Linked DNA regions of Homo sapiens: region 2 is linked to region 1. The links are contacts of gene promoters, found by promoter capture Hi-C in human tissues and cell types (Jung and others, 2019). All regions are on one chromosome and are shown on one strand. Each heading gives the region's core, a stretch centred on a gene start or on the middle of the fragment in contact. The rest is flanking DNA. Distances are from core to core; before and after follow the strand shown. Region 1 holds the start of FAM181B (family with sequence similarity 181 member B). Region 2 overlaps CCDC90B-AS1 (CCDC90B antisense RNA 1).

Region 1 (2,700 bases), core at 30-2,529:
AGGGCGCAGTCTGGAAAGAAGGGGGCGAAAGAGGCCAAATGGCCCCGCCCGTCCTCCCCGCCGGGAGAATCCGCAGCGGCGGGGTACAGGGGGCTCAAGGGCTCGTTCAAGGTCAAGCCGCCGCGGGGGGCAGTCAGGGGGCTCTTTTTGGTCGGGGAGCAGCCCGGGACGCTCCAGGGCTCGGGGTACAGTAGGTTTCCCACCACTGCCGGCGGCGGCTCAAAGAGGCCGGGCTCCAGCTCCGGGGGTCCCCGCAGTACGGAGGCTCCGGCGGGGAACACGTCGAGAGGCTCGGCGGCAAGCAAGACTGCCGCCTCCGTGCCGGCGCCGTAGTCGGGCCCCAGCAGCTCAAAGAACTCCACGGCCTCCGCGCCCTTCTCCAGGTCGCCCAAGCTCACGTCCGGCCCCGACGGGCCACACCCGCCGCCGCCTGCCCGGGACGGCTCCGTGAAGAAGGACGGAGGCAGATTGCGTGCCCGCAGCGGGACCTTCCTGGCCCCTGGGATCGCCGTGGCCCCCGCGGGGCCTGCCACGTCCCCTCCCGCGCCCCCAGTGCCCGCACCTCCTAGCCCGGCCGCCGGCGCAGCCACCTCACCCCCCGCCGGCTCGGCACCCCCGGGGACGTGGCGCAGCGAGTCGAAGAGCGCGGCCAGACTTCGGCTTTGCAAGCTGGCGGCCGCGGCGGCCTGCGACGCCTCCCGCCGGGGGGCAGCCTTGCCGTGGGCCGGGGCCGCGACTGTCGGGGCGCTAGGGGCGGCCAGCGGCCGTTTGGCTGGCGTGTCGGCGGCGCTCGGGGAGGGCGGGCCGGGGGGCGCGGCGCCCATGAGGCCGCTGCAGCGCTTGATCTGCTTCTGCAGGTACTTGCGGTGGTTCACCTTCCGCTTCGACTTGCCCGGCTTGTCCAGCGCCAGCTTGATGTTGCTGGACGCCGAGTCAATGAAGCTGAGTAGATCGCGGGTGGCCTCGCGCACGTCCCCTCCTTCGGCTCCCGACAGCAGCGCACCCGCCGGAGCCCCGGTCTCATCGTCCTCGAAACAGCAGCCCTTGTCCAGGGCTCCGAAGGCGCCCCCTAGCCCGTCCGGGGAGCCCCCGAAGCCGAAGGGCACGAAAGGGTGCGTGCTGAGGAGCGCCGCCTGCACCGCCATCGCCGCGGCTCCCGGGCTGTCCGCAGCGCTGCCCGTGCGCCCCCGCCAGCTCCTGCCCGCCGCCCAGACCCAGCTCCCGCCCCGGCGCGGCGCGCGCGGCGCAGCCTACTAGTTCCGGGCCTGGCTCGCTGCGCTGCCTCCCGGGGGAGCTCATTAGGTCTTGTAAGCAAGGGGCGGAGGGAGGGAGCGCGCGGCGACCGTCCCGGTGGTAGAGGGGAGGGGCTTACTTAGCCTGGCTTGGAGGAGTGGGGGGTCGCTTTAGTTTTCTGAGCTTTCTGAAGCTCAACGCCTTAACTCCTTCGTTTCCCTTTGCCCCGTGGTGTTTCTCTTGACTCCTCTAACCGCAAGGGGTGAGGAAGAGATGGCTGGTCTCAAACTCCAGTTCAGGCCCATGAGGCCGCTGCAGCGCTTGATAGGCTTCTGCAGGTACTTGCGGTGGTGCCTCTCCTGAGGCAAGAAGGCAGGAGTCTAGAGACGTGGGTTTCAGTCCAGCTGTATAACAACACCCACCAGCTTCTGGGCGCTTGCTTCTGCCAGGCGCTGTCCATCTATTATCTCATTTAATCCTTGAACAACAGCCCTGTGAATTACATGTTATCGCCATTCAACAAACGTGGACACTGCACCTCAGGGAGGTTCAGTGAGTTGGCCAAAGTCAGATCTAGCCCATTCTGACTCCAAAGCCATTCCTAAGCCCTTGACAATACTTGCGTCCTCTCTTGCCCTTGCCTTTCTCATCTATTAAGATGGGGAAGGAAAATGAGTATTTCTTAAAGCTCTAGACCTGATCCTAAGATTCTAACCTGAGTTTTCCCAGGATTCTCAAGCCCAGTGCTCTTTCTTCTTGACTGTTTGCCACTTGATTGTTACGAGTAACAATTGGCTAACAGTAAATTGAGGCCAGCAGTGGCCCATCTTTTATTAACACATAGCAGGAGGCAATGGAGAAAGGAGTCGATCTGGCTAAGCCCCCTGTTACTTGAGAACACTGTGTGTGTATAAAACTCTCAGCATGTTAGAATAAAAGATGGATTGGAACCTCTCCCCTACCTGTCATACCATTTAGGTTATCCCTGGAATTTTCATTGCATTTCAGGGATCATCATGAAGTTCACTTAAAACTAATTTCACCTGGGCAATCCTCTTTGGGATAGATAGAGAAAATGAGCAATAAGGTCATTTTCACAAGAGATTCAGAAGAGGCTTGGGTTCTGGTCTTAGCCACCACTCAATAACCTCATGACTTAGGTTGAAATCCTTGCTCTGCTGAGTGCATGGCTTTAGACAAACCAGCGTACTCTCTCTGTTTAGCTTACTCATGTTAAATGCAGGTAAAGTTGCCCTCCCCACAGGGCACTTGTGATATTTAAATGATACATTGTTCCATAGCCTGGATGAGTATTCACCCTTACTTCTCTGAAACACAAAAAGGTGACTATATCCCTTACGTGTCTTCTGGATCATAGGGTGTTCATGAGCATTAAGTGAGATCATAGATGCTTCTCAATTTGTGATAGAGCAACAACATCCTGATAAACACATTGTAAGTTGAAAA
Region 2 (2,700 bases), core at 73-2,572, 570 kb after region 1:
ACTAGAGCTAATAATATAATATTAGCATTATTTTTATTTACCAGAAGTGTATACTTCAGGCCCGCTCAGTCCAGTTCAGATTCTAAAGCTTACACAGTGGGAGGGAGGGAGAGGCTTATCTGGCATAATGCCCTTTCCTCAGATTCTAGAATATTGGTAATAACAGGCGTGGGTCCCGGCATGTCATTAGAAGAAAGCTGGCAGCAGCCTCACTCTTGTGTGCCTTTCCACCATCTGAAGCAGAGACAAAGGACACTTATCCAAAGAGAAAAATTAGATTAGGCAATTTACCAATTCATGGAATTCATTCAGTTGTTTCTGTCCTTTCCTTTTCAAGTAGCTGTGTCCCTATCTGCCTCCTACAGGCAGTACCTGGACAGGTCAGCCTGTGTGTCTGCAGAACTCTCTACTGCTGGGGGACCCTGTCCAGGATCACTGGATTGATGTCACTGGAAGTGAAGGTAGAGGGCTGTTTCTTGGTTCAGTTAGCTGATTTAGCTACAGTTCATTTCCCTTCTAATTTTGGGCTTGACAAGGCAGACCTGAGGGGAAAGACAGGCAGAGGCAGCTTTTGATGTCAGAGCTCTCCTACCTACCTGCCCCTCTCCTGCCTATCCTGTTCTATGCTCTCCCCCAATCCTACAGTAGAATTATCAGAGGAAGAGAGGGCGTGATTGGCAGCTGGGAGGGAGCAGCCATCAGAGCTATGCCTCTCTCATGGAGCACCTGGAGAAAAGAAGATTCTAGCTTTTCCAGCCCATGAACAGCCCAGTGCTTATCTTCCACTGCATCCAAAAGGGAAGCTGGGGGTGTAGTGGAGGGTGGGCTTCTACTTTTTAAGAAAATGCATTTTTTTTTATTATAAATGTATTGCTTCCTTAGAAATAAAAAGGTATGAAAATGTATAGAGTTCAGAATAAAATTATTCTCTAATTCCTTACCCTGAAGATGATATTGTTAACGGATTGGTGCACTTTCTTTCCAGTGTGTTGCAGCTTAATTTTCTCACTTATCATTATGTCTTGGACATTTTCCCAAGTTTGTACATAGAATTCTATTTCATTCTTAATAACTCAATAGTATTACAGGGTATAGGCATAACATTATTCATTTAACTGGTGCTCCTATTAATGGATACTTTGTATTCTTTTTTTGTTATTATAAACAAAACAAAGCTGTACTGCACATCCTTTTAGATACTTCTTAGTGCATGTACGTAAGAATGTCTATAGGAAGAATCCCTAGAAATGGAATGGCTGAGTCAAAGAGTTTGCATATTTAAAATGTTGGAATGTATTGCTATATTGCCCTCTAAAATGTTTTAATAATTTACATACTCTTAGGTAGGTGTTCTTTAACTTTCAAGAGCCCTTACCAGTATGCAATATGTGAATTGCCTGACATTTTGACAACCTTCAATAACCTCTTTCAGTGAAGCTCAATATACTTTGTGTGCTTGGTACAGATACTATGGTAGGCATGGGGTGTTCAAGAATGTCTGAAGGTTGAATAGTACTCCAAACCTAGCCTACAGTGTGTGTCCTATGAAGCCTTGAAGTTAGGCATTGTACTCTCTTCTCTAGCTACAAAAGTCCTGGATGGCATCTTCTTCCAATAGAAGGCTATTTAATCTCCATGGAAAATTTGTTGTTTTGTGTGGCTACCATTATCAATAATCGCAGATCATCTGGATGAATTGCTGCAGCTTCTACACCAGAACTTGCTCCTTCATCTTATACTTTTTTGTTCTGGAGACAACTTCTTTCCTTAGAGGAGTTTTTGAGTAGGGGAAGAGACAAGTACAGCCATAGCTCAGAAATAATGTGGTTTAGTTCCAGACTAACACAATAAAGTGAGTAAAAAGAATGTTTTGGTTTCCCAGTTCATATAGAAGTTATGTTTACCTTATAAACTCTATTAAGTGTGCAAAGCATTATATCTACAAAAGTACATACCTTAAAAGTACTTTATTTGCTAAAAAAATGCTAATGATATCCAAACCATCAGCTACTTGTAATCTTTTTGCTGGTGGAGGGTCTTGTCTCGATTTTGGTGGCTGCTGACTGATCAGCGTGGTGGTTGCTGAAGGTTGGAGTGGTTGTGGCAATTTCTTAAAATAAGACAACAGGCTGGGTATATTGCCTCATACCTGTAAATCCCAGCACTTTGGGAGGCTGAGGTGGGAGAATCTTTTGAGGCCAGGAGTTTAAGACCAGCCTGGGCAACATAGTGAGACCGTGTGTCTACAGAAAATAAAAAGAAATTAGCTGAGTGTGGTGGTGCATGCCTATACTACCATCTACTAGGGAGGGTAGGATGGAAGGGTTGCTTGAGCCCAGGAATTCAAGGTTGTGCCACTGCACTCCAGCCTGGATGGCAGAGTGAGATCCTGCCTCAAAATATAAAACAAAATAAAATAAAATAAAATAAAATAAAATAAAATAAAATAAAATAAAATAAAATAAGATAAAATAAAATAAAATAAAATAAAGTAAAATAAAATAAAATAAAGTAAAATAAAATAAAATAAAATAGTAAAATAAAATACAAAAATGAAGTTTGCCACATCAATTGAACCTTCCTTTCGCTGAAAGATTTCTTTGTAGCACATGATGCTGTCTGGTACTATTTTAACCACAGCAGAACTTTTTTCAAAACTGAAGTCAATTCTCTCAAAGCTTTCTATTGCTTTATTAATAT

What was found. Contacts are between HindIII fragments. The study calls those that stand out against the background at their distance.
Region 2: a fragment that was not itself captured here is called in contact with the fragment with the promoter of FAM181B in region 1 in 1 of the 25 tissues and cell types used here (mesenchymal stem cells).

What each region holds. Positions count from the first base shown.
Region 1 is chr11:82,732,585-82,735,284 of GRCh38, forward strand. FAM181B (family with sequence similarity 181 member B) reads right to left here and starts at 1,280. Exons shown (of 1, transcript NM_175885.4): 1 at 1-1,280. The coding sequence starts at 1,145. The HindIII fragment of the contact is 21,418 bases long and covers 1-2,700 here.
Region 2 is chr11:83,306,238-83,308,937 of GRCh38, forward strand. The region is part of intron 1 of CCDC90B-AS1 (CCDC90B antisense RNA 1); the gene reads left to right. It overlaps LOC105369420 (a long non-coding RNA gene), which reads left to right. Exons shown (of 2, transcript XR_950379.2): 1 at 1-461; 2 at 646-905. Among named protein-coding and RNA genes, the nearest start is that of CCDC90B, 21 kb to the left of the region's middle. The HindIII fragment of the contact is 4,088 bases long and covers 1-2,700 here.